4 separate regions of the Homo sapiens genome follow, and regions 2, 3 and 4 are each linked to region 1. The links are contacts of gene promoters, found by promoter capture Hi-C in human tissues and cell types (Jung and others, 2019). All regions are on one chromosome and are shown on one strand. The core of a region is centred on a gene start or on the middle of the fragment in contact, and the rest is flanking DNA. Distances in the headings are between cores, read along the strand shown. Region 1 holds the start of CDH8 (cadherin 8). Region 2 has its middle 110 kb from the start of CDH8. Region 3 overlaps CDH8 (cadherin 8). Region 4 overlaps CDH8 (cadherin 8).

What was found. Contacts are between HindIII fragments. The study calls those that stand out against the background at their distance.
Region 2: a contact is called between a fragment that was not itself captured here and the fragment with the promoter of CDH8 in region 1, in 2 of the 25 tissues and cell types used here (bladder and spleen).
Region 3: a fragment that was not itself captured here is called in contact with the fragment with the promoter of CDH8 in region 1 in 3 of the 25 tissues and cell types used here (dorsolateral prefrontal cortex, spleen and stomach).
Region 4: a fragment that was not itself captured here is called in contact with the fragment with the promoter of CDH8 in region 1 in 3 of the 25 tissues and cell types used here (dorsolateral prefrontal cortex, hippocampus and mesendoderm cells).

The regions. Positions count from the first base shown.
Region 1 is chr16:62,035,119-62,037,818 of GRCh38, reverse strand. It overlaps CDH8 (cadherin 8), which reads left to right and starts at 1,381. Exons shown (of 12, transcript NM_001796.5): 1 at 1,381-1,739. It overlaps LOC124903777 (a long non-coding RNA gene), which reads right to left and starts at 1,229. Exons shown (of 2, transcript XR_007065217.1): 1 at 1,042-1,229; 2 at 386-606. The HindIII fragment of the contact is 11,196 bases long and covers 1-2,700 here.
Region 2 is chr16:62,143,042-62,145,741 of GRCh38, reverse strand. No RefSeq gene overlaps it. Among named protein-coding and RNA genes, the nearest start is that of CDH8, 110 kb to the right of the region's middle. The HindIII fragment of the contact is 3,741 bases long and covers 1-2,700 here.
Region 3 is chr16:61,966,978-61,969,677 of GRCh38, reverse strand. All of the region lies in intron 2 of CDH8 (cadherin 8), which reads left to right. Among named protein-coding and RNA genes, the nearest start is that of CDH8-AS1, 50 kb to the right of the region's middle. RefSeq lists an enhancer at 655-1,172. The HindIII fragment of the contact is 7,820 bases long and covers 1-2,700 here.
Region 4 is chr16:61,923,503-61,926,202 of GRCh38, reverse strand. The region is part of intron 2 of CDH8 (cadherin 8); the gene reads left to right. All of the region lies in intron 1 of CDH8-AS1 (CDH8 antisense RNA 1), which reads right to left. Among named protein-coding and RNA genes, the nearest start is that of CDH8-AS1, 6.5 kb to the right of the region's middle. The HindIII fragment of the contact is 3,202 bases long and covers 1-2,700 here.

The sequences.
Region 1 (2,700 bases), core at 132-2,631:
AAATAATCCACTAAGTTTCTTGCCTATGACAGCTAGAACATGAAACAATCAGATATTAGAGCTACAGCCAATACTCTTTTTCACATTTCACAATGGGTTGTCAGATGCAGCACACAAAAAAATGTCAAATTTGCATAAATATCATAAGCATGTTGTGCCTATTTTCTCATTCTGTTCACTCTTTCTCATTAATTTGAGTGAGACAGTACAAGCTCTACAGACTGTGCGTCTTGTCCCCTGCACCTTTTTCCCCCTTCTGTTCTTGCTCTGTCCCCAGATGGTAAAATCCACCCTCAGGCTCACGTCTAGTGCACACAGGGAAGGGACTAAATCGGGATCTCCTGTGGAGGGGAGGGTTTTTTTTTTTAAGGTAAGAATTTATTTGTCTTATATTTATCTAATTTTATTAGAAGATGATGACTGTGGCATCGTCTACATGTTAGCCCCAGTGTTGAAAAAGAAAAGAAATCTGGACCTCCTGATTCATGGTCCCTTTTACCCCAGGGTGGCCATTTCTCAAGATCTGAGCGCAGCCCATCAGAAGACTTGAAGTGACCACAGACAGGGCAGGTCTTGGTGGAGGCAGGAGAACCGCAAGGATGGTATCTGAGAGGATATGACAAGATCAGGGCACATTGAGAAGACCTAGAAATTCCTCCCCTATTTCCCAAGCAAGTTCTGCTTTGCCTGCCCTCCTCCCCACAACCAACTACTGCGCGCCCCTCCTGGCTGCCACTCTGCTGTCCCTCATCCCATTTTCCCAAAGGAGCACGGGGACATCAGGAATGCGCTCCATCACAGAACCGCGACACACAGCCTCTACATAGCGTCTGAGTTGCAGGCAGGGGTCTCACAATCACCCTATTCTGTACGCAAGAGGCCCTTGGAATAAAGAGGAGGTAAGCTGCCCACGCTCAACCCTTTGCCCTGTCGCGTCCTCTTCCTCCTACGGAAAATAGCTGCGGGTCACTGAGACGCTTTTCAACATAACGCCAGCCCCAGAGCTCAGGTGAGACCTCTAGAGAGAAAGCTCGCAGGTACCTCATCCGCATGCTGTTATTATCTGCCAGCCCACTTATCCAGGAGCTCGGTCCTCAGCGGGCTGCGCGCACCGCGCGGAAGGGCGCATCTTCACCTCGTGGCTCTGGCGGCAGAGACGCGCGGGGCTTGCTCGGGAGCGAGGAGCGAAAAGTTGTGCGCCCACTTGGGTAGGGGGAAAGAGAGCGATCGAGCCAGCGCGGGAGAGCGAAGGGGGAAGGCGGGGAGGGGGCGGGGAGGGGGGACTGCTTACATGAATTTCCAAGTGGTAGACCTGCCTCTGCGCTCTGCCCAATGAGATCCGTCAGGGGAGGCACCCGGCTCACTTTTCCACATCACTTCACAGTTACATTTGGCAGGCAGGCGGGCTCGCACGCCGGAGCGCTCAGCCCAGAATTAGTGGATTTATTTGGAATCTCCCTGCCTCCTCCAAGCTCCGCCGCCGCCGCCGGCTTGTGCATAGACGGTAGCGTCAAGACACCAGCTGCACTTTGGGTTGCGGACACCCAGAGCCCAGCGCGCCCGCCCTGCGTCTCCGCACCAAGCCCTGTAGCTCCGAGAGGCATGAACGGAATCCGGAGGCGCCTGCCTAGCGAGCGAGGACCGGTCGGCGCTTGCCGCCCTCGGGAGCTAACCCCGAGCACCTCCAGCCATTTGTGAACCTGGAGGCTTGACATTCGCCAGCGCAGGGCCCCACAAGAGTAAGTGTTCCCCTAACCCACCCCCGTTTTCCTCTATGTTCCGACTATCCAGAAGGGACCGTTTCTTATAGGAATTCCCATGCCCCTTCGGACACCTTGCGCGCCTCCTGCCCCTCAGATGGTGGATGAGGGTTCTTAGCATAGGCTCTGGGCTAAGCTGTGTCTTTCGCGATATCCGTGGGTGATAACGTACGTACGCCTCAAGGTTTTGCCTGACTGTTTTTGCAAACTGCTTTGACAACAGATCCTAGAGAGTAGCAAGCTCCAGGCTGTGCCCCTCCAGTTTTCCTGCCGGTTTCCTTCCCTGCGGCGACTTGGCTATTTCGCCGCTTCCCAACGCAGGCAGGCGCGGCTGCAGCCGCGCGCCTTCACTGCGGGGTCCGTGCGGTGAATGGGAAGCACCTGCAGCCCGCTGTGCGGAGGGTGCAAGCCAGGGAAAAAAGGAGGCGAGGGGGCCCGAGTGGTCTATGGCTGGTTTTCTGCACCGCCTCATCTCCGAGGCGAGGGAGGGCGACCCCCGCGGCAGGGCTGCGGGCCAAGGCTCAGCTGCGAAAGCCCCAGCGCGAGGCTTTCCCACAAGTGGCAGCTCCAGCTCTGGGAGGTGCGGTGCCCGCTACAAACTTGCCGGGCTCCGGAGTCGCCCTGCGGCTCTGCCCTCGCCAAGACGCTGCCCAGCACCCCTGCAGGACCCCCAGGCAGTGTCTCCCCGCAACTCGAGATTGCGTGCACGGAGGCCCCCTTAAGCCGGGGACTCCGTAGCCGCTCTCCTAGGGACAGCTGAGCCCAGACCTGCGCTTTCTGTGGTCTGGCCGCTTCTCATCCGGGAACCTTTGAGGGGCTGGTCGCGCCCCTCGCAGGATCGGAGGGAAAAAGGCTCTTGCCTAGGTTCTGCCAGTACGTAAGAGGTTCATAAGGGACCTACTCCGGTTCTCCCAGGATCCAGCCAAGGCTGGGAAACGGT
Region 2 (2,700 bases), core at 108-2,607, 110 kb before region 1:
TCAAAGTGTGTTTCACAAACTATTTGCCGGTATTTCTCTAATTTTATGTTATGGAGGCAATGGAAATTTACAGGGTTGACTGATACAAAGTATGTAGGAAGTTGTATTAGTCAGGGCTCTCCAGAGGGACAGACCTAATGAGATATATGTATACCTGAAAAGGAGTTTGTTAAGTTGAATTGTCTCACACAATCACATGGTGATCCCTGCAAGCTGAAGGCAAGACAGCCAACAGTGGCTCAGTCCAACTCCCAATGCCTCAAAAGTAGGGAAGCCAACAGTGCAGCCTTCAGCCTGTGGCCAAAGGCCCTAGCGCCCCTGGCAAACCACTGGTTTGAGTCCAAGAGTCCAAAGGCCAAAGAACCTGGAGTCCGATATTCAAGGGCAGGAAGTATCCAGCACGGAGAAAGATGAAAACCGGAAGACACAGCAAGCCAGCTTATTCCACCTTCTTCTGCCAGGTTTTGAAGCCATGCTGGCAGCCAATTGGACTGAGTCCACCCTCATTGAGGGTGGGTCTTCCTCTCCCAGTCCACTGACTCAAATGTTAATCTCCTCTGGCAACACCCTCACAGACACACCCAGAAACAATACTTTGCCTCCTTCAATCCAATCAAGTTGACACTTAATATCAACCATCATAGAAGTCTACCTCAGAGAGGTTCGTTCAGTAAGAGCTCTACAAAGGGAGAATATTTAAGCAGAACTTTTCATAGTAATGAGTCAAGCTTGAAAAGGTCACAGGGAATCACATTCAAAATAGAGCCACTGCCAAGCGCAAGACCCAGAGGCAGGGACAAGCTTGGCATGTTCCTGGAACAGGAAGAATGCTAGTGTGTCACTTAGCATACTCAGTTCTGCCTGATGCCAAATCTATACTATTGATACTACACCAAGCTACCATGAAAAGAACATGGAGAAAATATGAGAGTATTCTTTATTTTCCTGAAGCAATTGATCACTCTTTTCTTTAGGTCACTAAATATCCACTGATCATACTTTCCTTTTCTTTCCGAGGTCTTCACTCAGCAAATGGAACTCTATTTTCCAATCTAACATACATACATGTTGCTAAAATATTTACAAAAAGACAACATCTAGTTTATATGTTTTATGAAAAATTTCATTTTCAGGAAAAAAGGATGGCTGGATGGATATTATTTTTATTTCCAGGAATTCTGTTTCCAGGAATTTTACCTATGTTCTTGAGCACTTTTGAGCAACTTAAAATCGCAAAGACCAGGACTCTAAATTATGCATTATTGTGAGTATTCATTGCTTAATCATGATTAATAATCTTCATCACTAGTTCTAGAAAATTGAGTCTATGAAATCTATTCTTTTTACTATTACTATTATTAGCACATTCAATCATTTGCTTCAAGAATGGTATTATTACCATTGTGTGTTATTTTTTTTAAAGATGAAATACAGTAAAATTTATAAATAATAGCATGAATCATCTTTTTGTTTAAAACGGTGAAATTTCAGAAAATTATGATTGAAAAGTTGAATGATTATACAGTAGCTTAAAATATACATCCAATAGCTTATATAAGAAGTGTAAATGCATTATAAAAGGCAAAGAAAAGTAACAAAGTACAACACTCAGAAGAATGATTTTACAAAAAATAAACTTTGATTTTCCTTTTGCCTTGTATTTCTTACCACTCTAGATCATTTAGGATATCTTTGTAAGATATATGAATGTCTGTAAGCCATCTTAAACTATGTTTATTTGCTTAAAGAAAATTAAATAAGTTAGAGCTGCACTACACTTAAAAAATACAATAATGAGATTGTAGGTAAAATCTAGTATTAAAAAAGCAACAAGCAGAACCAATGCTTTTGTGCTAAAAGTACACTAAACTAAGAAGAGAGAAAGAACTCTTGGATCAGATGGCTCACACCTTATTCATGAACTGGTAGAATCTCTGGTTGTTCATCTTATAAATTTCATTTCTGCTCATGATGTGTAGTAACTTTCTTCTCAATTTAAAAAGTACAATAATAATCATGTAATTTTGAGATGAAAAAAGAGAATCCCTGTGGCATTTGAATGCTTTCTCCACTCCAGACATTGTTTTCTAATTCAGGAAATTGAGAGCTATGAATATGTGACCTCTAAGCATCCTTTCAATTTTGACATTCCCAGATTCTATATAAAACCAGACTCTCAAATAAACTGTCCCTAAGAATGACGGCATAATTTTGCTTTCGAACATCAATAGTTATTTATTCTTAACGTATGTCCTTCAAGAGTGTAGAGCATAGTGCAAAAAGTCTTGGTAGAAGTGTTGAGGCACAATAGTGCTCCCATCCCAGCTCTGCCACTGACAAGCTTAAGATATTGGATAGCTCACTTAATTCTGCCAATCCTCATTTATTAAGCTGAGTTGAAATATTTTTTCTCATTATAAATGAGGAATTTCAGTGAGAGATCAGTAAGTTGCTCTTAAAATGAATGTTAACAATAATTATAGCCAACACACAATGAACACATTCTCACTAAACAAAAGACTATAAAGTTTTCAAATCTTGATTTGCTTTTTCCCTTTCGAAATGTGGAGTGAGTTATGATGGCTACTTGGCATACTTGAAGCCCTTCAAATTGTCAATTCCTTGCTCTTTCTAAAGCTCTGGAGGTCTGTTTTCTCTGAAATGTTTGTTTCTTTCAATTTGTAGCTCTCTGTAGGTTCC
Region 3 (2,700 bases), core at 67-2,566, 68 kb after region 1:
CCACCGGTTGTCCAGTACACAGTGAATCTATCAGATGGTCAGTAAATCTTTGTTAAATTGATGAATGAAATGCATTGGCAAATAATATAATATCTAATATCTCTTTATATAGATAAATGATCATATTTGGATGATTGTCTGATACTGACCGAAATAGTCTGTTAGAGCTGGGAGAGGCATCGGAAGTTATTTAATACATTCCATAGATAAGCCCATGTAGGGCTTCTCTGCACTCTGGATATTCTGTCATGGATTTCAAAATAAAATGTAAGCACTATTCAAGAAACCAGCTACGTGCCAAGAAAGATTCAGAAAGGGAAGATTCAATCTACACTGAATCCGTTCAATGATGGGTCTGCCATTGGAGTTAGCTTTCTGAAGTGGTTTTCTGTGCTTGTTTCTGGTTATGTTCCCGAAGTTCTGAGAATTCTCACTGTCAGATGCCCATCCTCACTCCACAGCACTTACTCTGAGAACCGGGAGTTCTATTTGTTTTGAGTCATTCAGATCATTATTGCCCATATAAGGGGAAAGAGATAGGGCTTTTTAACACATACCAACACCATCGCTTTTATTTCTGTTTCTCCTTAAACATGAAGCTCTGACTGAGAAGGTTTTATTTCAGTTCCTTTTTGTGTAAATCCAAACCCTAGATCTGTGCATCTCAAGAATCTTGGACTCTGAGCATTCTGCTATGGTCTTTTGCCAAGAAAAAATAATCCATATGCAGTAAAGGGAAATTGGGAGATGTCCTCACCCTTTCTGGGAGCAGTGGAGAACTTGTTTTAGATGAGCTGCCTGCACCTTGTCAGGCTTCACGCCGCTTTCTCAAGCAGCACTAAAGGAAATGAACTAATGATAGCTGATGCTTGTGATCGGCAAACTCCCTCCTGCCGCTTAGAATTGGAATGTGAGTGAAAGCTGTGGGGGCCTGGGCCAACCCTGACAGAAACAGGTTTTTAACAGCATGAATTTATGAATCCAGTCAATGCAAATGAGAGTTTATTATGCTTGGAGTCTAAAAAACGATGCCTCATTTATTAAATTAAGCTGCAGAAAGTCTATTCAGATAATGTTAAATGGTAGTTTTTATACTAAAAGCTAGGCTTTTCTTTCATCGATTCTGCTTATTTGATAGTGTTATTTTATACTCTGCTTACAAGGGAAGGGAGGATAAAGACTTGGAGATGGAGAGGATTGTGATTGCAGCCAGGTAACACTGGATTTGACTCACCATTGTGCCCTTTACCTGTCCTAGGTCTCACAGCTTTTGAGAGAACCTTTATCACCTTTAGAATGGGCATAATTACCTAAGCTGTAAGATTGCAGTGAAAGAGTGGGAAAAACTTGACACATCACTCAATAGACGAGGGTGAATGAAAGGAGGAGGAAAAACCTTCAGATACTTAACCTGTTTCATTCTTTCTCACAGAGTAGTTTTTGAGTCATGTGCATAAATTTCTATTCATTTGTAATTTTTTGGAAGTGGATCACAGGAATTTGCATAAAACTACCCTCCAGGTAACCCTGATTCCAGTTAAAGAACCATTGTTCTTAAAATAATGATCTCTAGGCCCAGCCCGGTTGCTTATGTAATCCCAGCTCTTTGGGAGGCCAAAGCGGGTGGATCGCCCAAGGTCAGGAGTTCGAGACCAGCCTGGCCAACAGGGTGAAACCCTGTCTCCACTAAAAATACAAAAAATTAGCTGGGCGTGGTGGCGGGCGCCTGTAATCCCAGCTACTAGGGAGGCCGAGGCAGGAGAATTGCTTGAACCCAGGAGGCGGAGGTTGCTATGAGCCAAGATCATGCCATTGCACTCCAGCCTGGGTAACAAGAGCGAAACTCCGTCTCAAACGAAATAAATAAATAAATAAATAATCTCAATTTAAATTCAACTGTCGTATAAGTACAGATTGAGCATCCCTAATCTGAAAATCCCAAATCCAAAAGCCTTCAAAATCTGAAACTTTGAGAGAGGACATAATGCCATAAGTGGAAAATTCCACCCCTGACCTCAGTCACAGTCACAACTCTGTTTCATCAAAAATTATTTAAAATCTTGTATAAAATTGTCTTCTGGCTACATGTATATGATGTACATGAAACATAAATGAATTTCCTGTTTAGACTTTGTTTCCATCCCCAAGATAGCTCTGTATGTATATGCAAATATTCCAAATTATTTATAAAGAAATCCCAAATCCTCCTGGTGCTAAGCATTTCAGATAAGGGACACTCAACCTGCAATAAGAATATTTTAATCCCAGCATGAGATTTTTCACTTGGTTACTAATTATCGGCATTAACACATTGGGAGGAAATGTGGTGGTACTGGAAAGAGAGAAATAAAACCTACACACTATTTGCAATCATCCATACATGGGATATGTTGGCATGTCTACCTTTTACAAACTGTATGACTTAACTAGTATTTTATCTCTTCTAAGATGGCCATTCCTCTTCTCTTTATTTTTTAGGGACAGGATCTTACTCTATTCCCCTATCTGGAGTGCAGTGGCACAGCCATATCTTACTGCAGCCTCGGACTCCTGGGCTCAAGGGATCTTCCCGTCCCAGCCTCCTGAGTAGCTGAGACCACAAGTGTGTGCCACCACACTTGGCTATTTTTTTTTCTTCTAGAGAGGGGGTTTTGCTGTGTTGCTCAGGCTGGTCTTGAACTCCTGGCCTCAGGTGTCCTC
Region 4 (2,700 bases), core at 66-2,565, 110 kb after region 1:
GTAAATGTATACACACACACACACACACACACACACACACACACACACACCCCTTCTGAGTCCCAAATCAACATTTTATGATTCTGCTTCTTATTAGTTTGTGTGGCTTGGAGCAGGTTACTTATCTACTCTGAATCTCAGATTTCTCATTGATCAAATGAGAAAAAAGAAACAACCTTGTGAAGGTATAGTAAGGATGAAGTAATGTATGTAAAGCAATTTGAACAGTATATGGTATATAGTAGATTCTCAATATACGTTTATTGCTTTCTTCTTTCTCCATCTTTTCCTCTTTTCTCTGCTACTTTCTGACCTGATCCTGGTTGGAGTCACCTTTGAAATAATAATGTTAGAGACTCTGTTTTGCTTTGTTGTGTCCTGCTAAAAAAATACTTCAGAAGTCAAAACATTTATGGAGTAAGTGGATATTTACTATGAGTCTTGAATTTAACATTTTATGACATACATTTCCTCAAAGGAGTAGTATATTGTGCTCTTGCAGATGAGTGACCCTACTTTAAACTCCCCTTGAAATTCATGTTGCTTGATGCTTTGAAATGAGTGTGGAGTGATTCTTCTGTAATTACACATGATGCATTAATTATTTCCTAATGAGGCCTAATGGAGAAAAATAGAAATAAAACAAATTGTAATAGCACACTCCTTTAGCTTCTCTAAAGTCATCAAAGTCACATCTCTAACAGTAAAAATAATGTTTCTCCTCCTTCTGATAGCATCAATTTTGGTGAAAGGTGAGCCTTGTGCTTTTGAGCTACTCAATATTTTCTGTAATAATATAGTATTTTATTGAGATTAATTCTTAACTGGGGTAAGGAGAAACAATGAGTATCTTGATTGCCATTAGCTTCTCAGTGTTCTATTAAAACAACCACAACAAGAAAAACAAAATCTTGTTTGCTCTTCTTATTTTATTTTGTCTTGTAATTTAACCAGCGTGGCCATGTCTGATTGGCTTTTGACAGTGTTGCCACCCTGTGGTCTCACCTGCTTTAATTGGACAATGGCAGTTTTCAATTAGTGTAAGCACAGCTTCTTGGACTGCCTCAGCAATTTTTCTCACACATATATTGTAATTATGTGTGTACCTCAATGTGTGAGACTATAAACATATGCTATATGATTGAATAGGAGTGCTGTCAACACTTTATTTTAGGAGCGTATTAATTATGACTGAATAATAATCTGGATGCTAATACAGAGTAACACCCTCTACCTGGTTGATATTTACATTACCAACTGCATCTCATTCTCAGAACGACGAATTTCAAAGTACGGAACAATTAGCAACTCTATGGAAATCCTACATTAAGAGTGTCTTACAAATAATCCTCCTCAGGACAATTAACAGCTCTTTATTTAAACCGTTTTTATTTATTGATTTATTCTGCCCAAACAGGAGGAGAGGCCAAAAATAGAAGGTTGAATTTTAGAATTGCAGTAACTAAAGATGACTACGTGGATAAGAAGGTTTTTAGTTTAAGTGTTTCTTTTAAAAAAAAAAACAGAAACTAATATTCATTTCTTCTGATTATATTGTTCCATCAATCACCAAGATCCTGTATATTCATGACTGCAATTTTTGAGTATGATGCTCTTTAACCTTCACACGAGAACACACTGATGAAGTCTAGCAAGCTTATTATTTTCAACAACTTTCAGTAGTGAATGTAGAGGTCAGAGGTGGGGAAGGAATTTTGTTATTAAATATCCCATGTACCTGTGTATCTGGGTGAGCAGGTAACTTTGGCCTGATATTTAACTCTGTAAGAAGAATGGGAATCTGCTATGGCCTCTAACAAGATGATGCGTGAGAACCTATAGGCTGTGCACACAGTAGAAGTATTATAAATAATTGTTAAAGGGTTGTGTATATTTCAACATAATCAAGTGTTTTAGTATTCAGAAGTGAATGTTCAAAAGTCCCAAAAAATGTTTGGAACCTAAAATTGATTATTCCCTAATGGAAACATTTCGAACCACTTATTAAAAGTGGCATTGCCAAATAATACCATCCCACTTAGAGTATCAGGATTAAAACGACAACAACACAACAACAACCACAGAAAGGAATAACTTTTTGATCTCGAAGTCAGCGGTCCTCATAGTGTGGTGCCTGGATCAACAATATTAGCATCACCCAGGAACTTCTTAGAAATCCAAGTTTTTTTTTGGTCCCATCCCAAAATTGCTAGAGAGGGCCCAGTAATCTGTGTTTTTACTTATGATTCTGATACCCATGATTCTGATGCTTGCAGAAGTTTACCCTGTTCTAAAGAGATATATATGTGTATATATTTAAATATATATAGTAAATATATAATATATTTAAATATATACACAAATATATACATCACATATATAATATATATTTAAATATTATATATTTATCACATATATACATCACATATATTTATATATATTTAAATATATATACATGTGATGTATATATATATATATCCTCTAGCCATCTAGATTGCCAGGGCTTCATAATAACCTGAGACAATATTCACCTGACAATATTCTGGTCAGGGAACTTGAATATGCCAGCTTTATGTTGTATATGTGACATATAGTATTTCACTTATTATTCACAACAGTTCAAAGAGGGAAGAGTTTATTTCCTCATATCTAAAATATTCATTAAATTAAAGCAAAATAAATTTGACTTTCCTGTGGTCA